Linked DNA regions of Homo sapiens: region 1 is linked to region 2. Evidence: promoter capture Hi-C in 16 types of primary human blood cells and fetal thymus (Javierre and others, 2016). All regions are on one chromosome and are shown on one strand. The core of a region is centred on a gene start or on the middle of the fragment in contact, and the rest is flanking DNA. Distances in the headings are between cores, read along the strand shown.

Region 1 (5,935 bases), core at 300-2,799, 220 kb after region 2:
GCATTAAAGGGGTCACAGGAGGCTATTCAGGATGGAAAGGAAGGCCAGAGGGTGGGATTTTTGTCTGGGGGCCGCAGGGGTTCCCCTTGCCCAGTCTCTTGGTCCTCTTGGGCACAGCTGCTGCTTCTTCAAAGGCCAGCTTAGGTCACTTCCGCTGCCCACAGCACTGCCCTCTCCCTGGCCCCCTGGTGGGATGACTCGCACTCGAGACCACTGCAGCCTGAGGCTACCCTTACATCTGGGGGTGACTTCTGCTGAAACAGGCTCTTTCTCCGTCCTCCCCAAGACTGGGGGCCTCCCATAGACCCACAGAACGCCAGGTTGCCAGTGGGGGGCAGATCGGGATTAGGGGTAGGCGTGTCCCTGACCTGTTACTTTCACACCCACCCACTTGCGTCTCCCCACTTTTTTGGGAGAGGCCCCACTCTCTGTACCCTGATGTCTGTGAGGTGCATGGGAGAGGCAGCGTCCATACTCCCCGCTTCCCTCGGGGTCCTGGGGAGTGGCAGCAAAAAGACCAGCGAGCCTTCGGAGAATTATAACTTTATGTGGGAGGCTGGGGCGCGTCGCACACTCTCAGTCGCCGTCACCGCGGGAAGATGGTGCCATCCACGTTCTCCTCCAGGATGGTCTCCACGCGCCTCCGCTGCCGGGGAGAGAGGCTGGGGTCCGGCGTGTGCGGAGGCGGGCAGGGCCCCTCCCCTTTCCCCGCCCCTACCGGGGCTTGTCTGCACCTCTTGGCGGTCCAGGGGGTCCGGGATCCGCGCGGGCTTCAGCTGCGGCGGCAGGAACAGCTCCAGCCGGATGGCGGCGCGCGCGGACTTCTGCCGCTGGATGAGCAGCGCGATCTCCTCGGCCTGCGGGGCCCGGGTAGCTGAGCGCGCGCCGAGCCCCGCCCCGCCCCGCCCCGGCCGGCTCCGCTCAACGCTCCCGGTGCGCCCCCTCTGCCCTCCGACCCCCTCGCCTCACCCGCATGCGGGTGTAGCGCAGCCGCAGGGCGCGGACTCGCCCGCGGGCCTCCGCTGCCTTGAGGACGCCGAGGAGCCGGTTCTGGCGCTCGGCGGGCAGCTCGAGCGACTGCGTCCACGGGCGCGGGTCGGGCATGCGGTACCCCGGTTCCACCGACCCGCACGGGAAGGTGGAGGCCGCCGCGCCCACGTCCTCCAGCAGGTCGCCGAAGAGCAGATGGCGGTGGCGCTGCGCAGGGAGCATGGCCGCCAGTCCCTGCGGCGTCAGGGCCCAGCCCGGCTTGGGGGGCTCTGTCGCGGGCGCCCCCTTGGCACGCTCCTCACCCTGCGCCGTGCCTGGCGCGCTCTTCCCGCTTCGCTCCCGCGGGCCCTTGCGCCCGCCCTCCTTCGCTGGCGGCGGCATCCTCCCGCCCTGCGGAGGGAGGAGGGCGTCCCGTCGGTGCCGGGGCTGGCACCGGGCCCTGCCCGCCCCTCGGCAGGGCCCCAACGTGCGCCCCAGCTCCCGCCCGCTGGGCTCTCCGCAGTCGGTTTTGAGTTCCGCACCCCCAGCCTCTGAGCTTTGCCCAGGCGCTCTCCCTCTCCCAAGCGCACGTCCCCAGCAGCTCTGCCATCGGCTGATCCTGCTCAGTCCTGCAGTCAACTAGGACTTTCTGATCAACTCAGTTGTAGGAAATATCTTTCCTACCCGATGGACTGTTCTGTTTGAATTGAGAAAATGCTGAGACCCCACTGGGTTGATCTCAGGCCCTGCCACATGGAGAGCTCTAGGTGACGCCTGGGGGACCTTCGTTGTGCCCCTATGTCTGCGGTCCCCGACAGTCAGGGTCTCCCACCAGACAGCTCGCTCTTGCCCTTCGAGGCCTAGATGGTTGTGGGGAGCAGAGCCTAGAGGGCAGGTGACAGAGGAGGGAGGGTCCAAAAGCCCAGCTGGCTCCTCCCTTCCCGGCCCCAGCCTACAGCTGCCACCTTGTCCAGCCAGGGCTGGGCTCGCTGTGCCAGAGGCAGAGCCACGGCCAGCCCCAGCGGCGGCTAACGCCCCCGCCCCTCCTTAGCTCCTGCAGCCGAGGCCCAGCCCCCACCTCTTGGTCCCTACACCCCCTGCTTGCTGCCTTCTCTGGTCGGAAGAACCTCCGCCGTAGCCCAGACTCTTTGGGCTTGTTGACGCGGTTGCCCAGCAACCGGGAGTCCTGCCCCTCCCTCGACCAGGTGGGGCGGGTCGTGGCGGGGGGCAGGGTCCCCTCCGGAGGGCCCTGGGTTAGAGTCTGGGCGTGGACGCGCCCCTCATAGGGGTCATTGGGGCATAGAGGCATAGAGCCGGCTTCTCCAGCTTGGGTGAGCGTCCTTTCCAGGCGGCCGCAGACGCGCCATCCTAGGGGTTGTGGGCCCAGGTTCCTGGCTTGAGGGGTCTTTGGGGTTAGTTTTGTGGGTGGGGCCCTCGGCTATGAGGAGACCTTTGTGGTTAAGGCCCATTCCCTTCTGATGGCCAGGGGGCTCTGGCCCCAGCCACTGGTGTTCACAGAAAGGGATAATGGGGCAGAACTCAGGACCCCTCACCTCTTCTAGGGCAAGTTTGGGGTCTCAGGGGTCCTGGTGTCCCCAGGACTAGAGCTGGGTTTTGCTGAACACTGTGTCTTGGGATCTTGGGTCCTAGATACTAGATTTTGGAAATCTATTTGTGCATTCCTTTGTTTTGTAACTAATTCTCAATTAACTACTTAATCATTTTATAATTTCTTCAGGCACTCATAAGTGTGTTCTAGAATTTCCTAATTCACGTGCTTATTCCACAGTTTAAATTAGGCAAAAATTAGTGCAAAAAGTCCAATCTGTTACGTATCTATTACTTCCACGAGATGTCTGTACTCTCTCTATATTCACAGACCTGCCGCTGGGACACCTTGCTGGGAGTTTGGAACCTGTGAGTTTGGGAGTAGGGCTGTCCCAGCTGAGGAGCAGGGTCTTAGCTGAGCTTCTGGCCTTTTGGCAGGAGGCTGTTGGGTGTTCCCATTGTTTTTGGGAGACTGCCCTGGCCTCTCAGTAAGAGGGTAAATTTTGACATTCAGCCCTATGTCCCAGAGCCGGCACCCCATCCCACAGCTAGGCCCATCCTTCCAGCCCTCAAGCTTTTGCTGCTCCCCAGGAAGGCCCTTCCTGGTGCTGTTCCCTCCCCTCCTGCAGGTGCCTTTGGGGTCCTGCCTGGGCTGCAGCACCAGCTTGGCTTGAGGAAGGTCCCTGGTCTCCAGAAGCAGCAGTGACTGCTTAGGGATGCTCACCCAGCAGCCGCTTTCTCTGGGCAGCCTTTGTGCTCCCATAGGGGTGAGTCCTTTGAGACAGGGACCTGGGCCATCCTCTCAGCTTCCCTGGGTCCAGGCCAGGGGGACACATGGGTGGGGCACTTTCTGGCTCTTGGCGTTTGTGGGGGAGTCACGCAGGGAGTAGGGGAATATTCTTCTGTTCTGCAAGAAGGGGCTTGTAACCTCTTTTTATAGGACTGGAAAACCTTGACACCCCCTAGTCCATAATTTGCAGCAGGTACTCCCAGGGCCTACCTGGCTCACATTCCTCACCCCTACTGTTTCTCCACACGTTTGCAGTTCTGCAAGAAGGGAGGTGTTCTCTGTGTGTTTGGGGTCCAGCAACTGTGAGGGACCCAGCAGGCCGACACCTCCCATCTGTTTCTGTCCCCAGGATTCACGTGTTTTTCAAGGGCTAACGGAAATGCTGAGATCTAAAAGCATGTTTATTGCTGCCAAGGCCTGACGATGAAACTTCAAGTCAAATTAGTAAGCTTTATTAATGACTACAAAATTTAACATGATATTGAGAAGCTACAACTCAATTTTTTTTGTCATTGTATATAGATTTTGTAAAGTTAAAATCACAAGGACAAAGTAATTTATTTTGATGAAACTCAGAATTGTTAAAAATTCTTTCACTTTTTTAATAGCACAAATGTGCGGCCTGGTGACTGGCTTCCCTGGGGGATGGCTGCTCTGTGAGGGGCTGCCAGACCCTCTGCCTTGATTCCTGTTCTTGGCCAGCCCAGGGTGGTGAGCCTGTGGAAGGAGGAGGGTAGACTGTGCCTGCCCTGGGGGTGGGAGTGGGGAGGACAAAAGACAGTGTTCCAGCTGCCGTCTGGCGTTTGCTGATTCTGAGTCACTGGATGAGAGTGAGGTGTGTGTATTTGCCTGCTGAGTGGGTGTGAATCTCACCCCGGAACCCAGGCCTGCCCAAATACCCAGGAGCTCCAAGAGCAGCCTGTGTCAGGCTTTAATCTGTGGACACAAGCTCTGTGCTGTCATTCGCGTGTCATCGTTCGTGTCTTGGGCTATCCCTAGTATCCTCGCACACAAGCTCTGTGCTGTCATTCGCGTGTCATCGTTCGTGTCTTGGGCTATCCCTAGTATCCTCGCACACAAGCTCTGTGCTGTCATTCGCGTGTCATCGTTCGTGTCTTGGGCTATCCCTAGTATCCTCGCACACAAGCTCTGTGCTGTCATTCGCGTGTCATCGTTCGTGTCTTGGGCTATCCCTAGTATCCTCGCACACAAGCTCTGTGCTGTCATTCGCGTGTCATCGTTCGTGTCTTGGGCTATCCCTAGTATCCTCGCACACAAGCTCTGTGCTGTCATTCGCGTGTCATCGTTCGTGTCTTGGGCTATCCCTAGTATCCTCGCACACAAGCTCTGTGCTGTCATTCGCGTGTCATCGTTCGTGTCTTGGGCTATCCCTAGTATCCTCGCACACAAGCTCTGTGCTGTCATTCGCGTGTCATCGTTCGTGTCTTGGGCTATCCCTAGTATCCTCGCACACAAGCTCTGTGCTGTCATTCGCGTGTCATCGTTCGTGTCTTGGGCTATCCCTAGTATCCTTGCATATTGTTTCGCCTGCCCAGAACATGTGTGTTTGAGGTTGTCTTGCTCTCTCATATAACATGTGCCTCTTGCTATCTCTTGTGTAACATATATGTTCTATATAGGACCCTGATTCTACCTTCCCCCTTCTGGAGGGACCACCCCACCCTTGGCAGGTTGGGGGAGGGCAGGACTCTATTAGGGGTCTAGAGATACCTGGGCCATTTCATCTGCACCACCAGTTCTCCTCCGTGGGAGCGTTTCTGGGTCCAGGGCTGGGCCCCTGCCAACCCCAGGGAGCACTGTCAGTGTCACACCTGGCCAATCCCCTAGCCAGGTGACCAGGCCTGTCTTTCACTCTAAGACTGCGCCTGTGAGGGGCCAGGTGCCTGCCTCCTGCGGGGCTCTGCTGACCACACTCTCAGAGGATATCTGCTGAGACCAGAGCTCACAGGCCTAGCCTGGCAGCCGTATTACTGAATAATGGCCAAGTTAGGAAGGTTCCCAGGGCTGGGGGTCCTGGGGTAGGCTTCTTGGAGGAGGTAGGACTGGAGCTGGCTGGGGTGGGGCAGGATCCATGCAAGGGGCCAGAATCTGCACATGGGCCAGGATCTGTGCATTGAGGCCAGGATCTCTGCATGGGGGCAGGAGTCTCTGCGGGGAGGACTTTTAGGGGGTAACAGGATCTGTGCAGCGTGCAGGATCTTTGCAGTGGGGCCAGGATCTGTGCAGTGGGTAGGATCTACATTGGGAGTCAGTGTCTGTTCAAGGGAGTCGGGGGACAGGACCCGTCCAGGGAGGGCAGGATCTGTACAGAGGGACCAAGATCTACGCACGGGGATAGCATCTATGTGGGGTGGGGGCACGGTCTGTGCCAGGTTTTGGGGGCACTAGATCTTTGCAGGTGTGGCCAGGATCTGTGCAAGGGGTAGGATCTGTGCAGAGTGGCCAGGATCTGTGCAGAGTGGCCAGGATCTGTGCAGGGAGGCCAGGATCTGTGCAGAGTGGCCAGGATCTGTGCAGGGAGGCCAGGGTCTGTGCAGAGTGGCCAGGATCTGTGCAAGGGGTAGGATCTGTGCAGAGTGGCCAGGATCTGTGCAGGGAGGGTAGGAT
Region 2 (5,790 bases), core at 2,532-5,031:
TCCCCACTCCCTCCCCTGACAATGCAGGGCACTGTGTCAAGGATTCTGGAGAGACCCTGGCTCATTCCCACAGGAGACGGGGAACAGGCCTGGGGAGGAGCCAAATGCCAGTGTCGGGGGGCCGGAGGCTGCAGTGGCAGTGCTTGTAGGCAGGGAGGACAGTGAGCCCTCCACATATACATAGCATGGCCCCCAGGGGTGTGTACTGGGATGGGTGTTGGGGGGTACTCTGGGGAGGGCTGCTCACTGGTGTCCTTCATCCCGGGCAGGAGAGAGGCCCAGAGCACAGGCCCTGCAGGGAGCCAGGACGGAGAAGGCTCCAGTGTACGCCACTCCCCCACCAACCCCACCGTCCTTGAGGGCTCTGAGCAATTAATTCTCTGTGACTCCAGATGTTCAGCAGCTGTCTTGGCCATTTCCGCCCCTTCTCCTGACCCTGCGTCCTCCAGGAAGCATCCCCTCCTGTCCTTGGGCTCCAAGCCACCCCCACCTTCCCTGCACCCCATTTCCTGAGCAGAGGCGTTTGTGCAGACTCAGCTCCCGCACCCACCAGGGTAGCCTCAGTTTTCCCAAGGCCTGGGCACTGCTCCCTGAGTCCAGGGCTGCTGGGGTCGGCTCACTCCCTGACGGATGCCCTCTGCCAGGGGCTCTGATCCTGGTTCCTGCCCCTCCGGCCTCTGGGACTGGTTTTCTCTCTCTCCTCTCCTTCCTTCTCCAAGGTTGGCTCTGCAGGCTCCACTGGCATAAATCAAGGGCCTCCAGGGAGGGTTCAGTGCAGGAGGGTTGGCAGGACTGGCCAGGGGGAGAGCCCTGCCCCAGTGCAGGAGGGCCCAATGCAGGAGGGTGGGAACCAAGGGGTGGAGGGCTCAGAGACTGGCAGGCCCTGTGGGGGTGGGTGCACGCTCAGATGTCGGCGTGGAGGGCACCGGGGTGGAGGTGGGGGTTGCCTCCACAAACAGATCAGCAGGGACACAGCCCCCACCTCCACCTTGTGGACACTTCCCTGAGCTGATGGCGGTGGAGGCACAAGAGGTCATGGCTGCTGCAGCTGGTCGTCTGGGGGCTCTTCTGGAGAGGGGACAGCTCCCTTCCTGTCACATGCTTTCCTGTCTCAACAGAGCCGGGGGTTCTGGGGCACTTGGACTCCCGTGGGCTGGTGGGATCAGGGGCTGGGCCAGACACAGGATGAGGCATGGAACCCCTGGGGGCCAGCGGCTCCAGCCCGCTGACCTCTGCCCCTCAGAATCCGGTCCCAGGCTCTCCCCTCCTCCTCTCAAGAACTTCCTGCTCTGTGTGTGTGTGTGGGTGGGTTGTTGTGGGGGAAGCTAAGGGCAGGTGGGCCTGGCTAAAGAAAAGCCTGCATTTCCAAACAAGTCCCAGAGCAGATCAAGCTGGGAGACTGCCCCCAGGAGGACGAGGCTCCTCCAAGCAGGATCTGCTCAGGGGAATCAAAATAAGGTTTAGTGCGTCCAACATCCTGCGTGGACAGTCCTCCAGGACTCCTGCCGCTGCCAGGATCTGAACTGAGGTGGCAGGGACACCTCCTGTCAGAACTTCGGCTCTGCTGCTGGGTTCACTCCTGTGGTCTCACACAAAATGGGCCGGTAGCCTTTGGGCCCACAGCCCCAACCTGCCTAGAGTAGGCAGCCGCTGAGTTTATGAAAGAGGCTCCTGGGAAAGGAATCATCTCCCACCCTCTGCAGAAGTTTCCATCCCCACCCCTATCCACCAGGCTCCTTTCCCCACAGGGTCAGGGGTGGACACTTGAGCAGGACCAGAACCACCAATCCCCAGGGGAAGCCTTGCCCATCCCTTGGCTGCAGGGGCAGTACCCTGTGTGTTTCCTCCTGGGGCAGGGCTCCTGTTGCTGCCCAGGACCCAGTGGAAAGGATGGTGTGACAGGTGCACCAGTGGACCCTGAGACACCCTCTTTGTCCTCAGGCTTTGACCAATGAGCACAGTAGCCAATCGGAGATCAAAGCTGGATAACCAGGAAAATCTGGATCTCAACTGTGTGTGTGCCTGGGGGTAGGACTGCCAGATTTAGCAAAACAAAAACAAATTTAAAAACAGGGTATATCTAGACCGGGTGCGGTGGCTCCTGCCTGTAATCCCAGCACTTTGGGAGGCCAAAGCGGGTGATCCACCTGAGGTCAGGAGTTAGAGGCCAGCCTGACCAACGTGGTGAAACCCCATCTCTACTAAAAGTACAAAAAGTTAGCCGGGCATGGTGGCGGGCACCTGTAATCCCAGCTACTTGGGAGGCTGAGGCAGGAGAATTGCTTGAACACCCAGGAGGCAGAGGTTGCAGTGAGCTGAGATTGCACCATTGCACTCCAGCCTGGGCGACAAGAGTGAGACTCCGTCTCAAAAACAAACAAACAAACAAACAGAAAAAACAGGATATCCAGTTAAATTTGAATTTCAGATAAACAATTTTAAAATAATGTCTCAAGCAGAAGTTGGAACATACTTATACCCAAAAAGTATTTGTTTATTTGTAATTCCAATTTAACTGGCATATTATTCTGTATTTTATCTGGCAACCTAGAATGGGGGTAATAGCCCCCCAAATCGCTCCCTTTGTTAATTGGTCCCTGTCTTCTGTCCCCCAACCCCTAAAGGCAGCAGCTGACTCCCCCAACTAGGGGCGGGGCCTGTTAGGGTCAGGCAGTGCCTCTAACCCAGACGCTGAGCAGGAGAGCAGAGAGGGGGTGCTTCAGCCTGAAACTACCCCTTCCCCAGAAGGCTGGGGTCCCAGGCGGGCCTGGCACCTGGGCTCAGAGGCTCTGGCTGGATTTGCCAAACTCCCTGATTGTAGCATGTTTGTTTCTGGTCTGGGGAGCTGTTGAGTACCTGGAGCTGCCCTCTTCCCTGGGGCTCCTCCTGGCAGGCGGCTTCCGACCCTGCCCTCAGGTGGGCTGGCCCTTTCCAGGGCAGGAGAAAAGATACCTCTCCAGAAAAGAGGGAGGCGCAGCCTGGGAGTGGGGGCTCGACCCAGGAGCGAGAAAGAGGAACCCCAGCCAGGCAGGACCCGCCCCAGAAGGTCACTGCTGTTGCTGGCAGCCAGTGAAAAGAGGATCCAGAAAAGGAGAGGGCTTGTTTCTGGTCAGCACCGAAGAAGGAAGGTGTGGAGAGGAGGGGCCGGGCCGAGAGCAAATACCGCCTTTTTGGTGCAGCAGCAGCCCTGTCTCTGACCCCGGCCGTCCTGGGGAGATGAGGTTTAAACCAGCAGACCCTGAAGGGAAACTTGCAGGACCCACAGCAAGCCTGGTACAGGCGGAGGAGGCCTTGCTGTCCCTTTTTGGCCCGTGGGGCTGTCCATCTTAAATTTAAGGAAGAGGGAGGCGGGGTGCAGGGACTCACACCTGTAATCCCAACACTGTGGGAGGTGGAGGCGGGGTGCAGGGACTCACACCTGTAATCCCAACACTGTGGGAGGTGGAGGCGGGAGGATCGCTTGAGCCCAGGGGTTCAAGACCAGCCTAGGCAGCATAGTGAGACCCCATCTCAATTTAATAAATAAATAAGGAAGAAAGAGGGAGACAGTAGCTGCTCAAATCATGGGTGGGAAAGCTGGGCCTGGGAGCGTTTAGCTGGTGGGGTCTTGGCGAAGGCGGGGGACGGGCAGAACCTTGGGTTCATCATCTCTGGGAACCCTTTGTGCACCCATCACCTAGCAACAGGATGCAGCCTTCCCTCCGCCCTGGAAGGCCAGGTCACAAAGGCCATCAGGGCTTGTCCGGGAGCCGGTATCCCCTAAGACTGCCCTGTGCCTCTCGCGGCGATCCCGGCCCAGCGGCTGGGCGTTAGGGCCACCGCTCATGTGCGTCATCTGCTTCGTGAAGGCGCTGGTGCGCGTGTTCAAGATCTACCTGACCGCCAGCTACACCTACCCATTCCGCGGCTGGCCCGTGGCCTTCCGCTGGGATGACGTGCGCGCCGTGGGCCGGAGCAGCAGCCACCGGGCGCTGACCTGCGCGGCAGCCGCGGCGGGCGTGTGGTTGCTGCGGGACGAGACGCTGGGCGGGGATGCGCTGGGGCGGCCTCCACGTGGGGCGCGCAGCCAGGCGCAGTGCCTCTTGCAGCAGCTCCGCGAGCTGCCCGGCCAGCTCGCTAGCTACGCGCTGGCCCACTCGCTGGGCCGCTGGCTCGTGTACCCCGGCTCCGTGTCCCTGATGACGCGCGCGCTGCTGCCGCTGCTGCAGCAGGGCCAAGAGCGCCTCGTGGAGCGCTACCACGGCCGGCGCGCCAAGCTGGTGGCCTGTGACGGCAACGAGATCGACACTATGTTCATGGACCGCCGCCAGCACCCGGGCAGCCACGTGCACGGGCCGCGCCTCGTCATCTGCTGCGAAGGCAACGCGGGCTTCTACGAGATGGGCTGTCTGTCTGCACCGCTCGAGGCCGGCTACTCCGTGCTGGGCTGGAACCACCCCGGCTTCGGCAGCAGCACTGGCGTGCCCTTCCCTCAGCACGACGCCAACGCCATGGACGTGGTGGTCGAGTACGCACTGCACCGCCTGCACTTCCCGCCCGCGCACCTGGTGGTCTACGGCTGGTCTGTTGGCGGCTTCACGGCCACCTGGGCCACCATGACCTACCCGGAGCTGGGTGCACTGGTGCTGGACGCCACCTTCGACGACCTTGTGCCGCTGGCGCTGAAGGTCATGCCCCACAGTTGGAAGGGGCTGGTGGTGCGCACCGTGCGCGAGCACTTCAACCTCAACGTGGCCGAGCAGCTGTGCTGCTACCCGGGGCCGGTGCTGCTGCTCCGACGCACGCAGGATGACGTGGTCAGCACTTCGGGCCGCCTGCGCCCCCTGTCACCTGGTGACGTGGAGGGCAACCGGGGCAATGAGCTGCTGCTGCGCCTGCTGGAGCACCGCTACCCCGTCGTGATGGCGCGAGAGGGCCGCGCCGTCGTCACCCGCTGGCTGCGCGCTGGCAGCTTGGCGCAGGAGGCCGCCTTCTATGCACGCTACCGCGTGGACGAGGACTGGTGCCTGGCGCTGCTGCGCTCCTACCGTGCACGCTGCGAAGAGGAGCTGGAGGGCGAGGAGGCCCTGGGGCCACACGGACCCGCCTTCCCATGGCTGGTGGGCCAGGGCCTGAGCTCGCGGCGGCGCCGGCGCCTCGCACTGTTCCTGGCTCGGAAGCACCTCAAGAACGTGGAGGCGACTCACTTCAGCCCTCTGGAGCCTGAGGAGTTTCAGTTGCCCTGGCGGCTGTAACCTATATGCCCCAGTGGGGGATCACGCACTTGAACTCCTGGCCTTCTTGGTTCACCTCCCCATACCGCCAACCATTGCAGGGGGCCGGCGCCGACGCGGGGCGGGGCGGGGGGGGGCGCGCGGGGTGCTCCTGATCTGCTGTCTGGGGGAGGGTAGGCAGAACACGGGGACTTGGTGCTCTCCTTCCTTCACAGGGGCGTTCTGACCGTCCTCCCATTCTTCCTAGCTCTGTCCCCTCCTTTCTCTCTTCCTCCTACAAATACTTTTGGCTGCCCCCACCCAGCTCCTAAGGGAATGAAAGGTTAACCTGACCCGGTTTATGGCAATACTGTGTGATGGGTGCCTTGATCACCACAAAAGGATGATGGGAACGGGGCTGTGGGGTCCCAGGGAGGAGCCCTTCACCTGGCCTGGGTTACAGGATGGCTCCTGGGAAGACAATGCCAGCTGTGCGCTGAAAGTCTGTGCAAGCTGCTCCCGTGAAAAGGAGGACATTGGCATGGCAGGGCTGTGGGCAGGTCTTAGTGGCTGGACATTCCCAGGAGTTAGCACTGGC

Evidence for each region. Contacts are between HindIII fragments. The CHiCAGO score rates a contact against its expected background, and 5 or more counts as called.
Region 1: a contact is called between the fragment with the promoter of LKAAEAR1 here and the fragment with the promoter of ABHD16B in region 2, in 2 of 17 cell types (endothelial precursors and M1 macrophages). The highest score is 5.4, in endothelial precursors.

The regions. Positions count from the first base shown.
Region 1 is chr20:64,082,849-64,088,783 of GRCh38, forward strand. LKAAEAR1 (LKAAEAR motif containing 1) reads right to left here and starts at 1,550. Exons shown (of 3, transcript NM_001353425.2): 1 at 970-1,550; 2 at 735-857; 3 at 528-646. The coding sequence starts at 1,371. The coding sequence ends at 587. The region is part of intron 1 of OPRL1 (opioid related nociceptin receptor 1); the gene reads left to right. RefSeq lists silencers at 643-702, 883-962, 4,074-4,274. The HindIII fragment of the contact is 5,360 bases long and covers 1-3,089 here.
Region 2 is chr20:63,857,717-63,863,506 of GRCh38, forward strand. ABHD16B (abhydrolase domain containing 16B) reads left to right here and starts at 3,782. Exons shown (of 1, transcript NM_080622.4): 1 at 3,782-5,272. The coding sequence starts at 3,825. The coding sequence ends at 5,234. It overlaps ABHD16B-AS1 (ABHD16B antisense RNA 1), which reads right to left. Exons shown (of 2, transcript NR_165314.1): 2 at 3,499-5,790. RefSeq lists a silencer at 830-989. The HindIII fragment of the contact is 10,144 bases long and covers 1-5,790 here.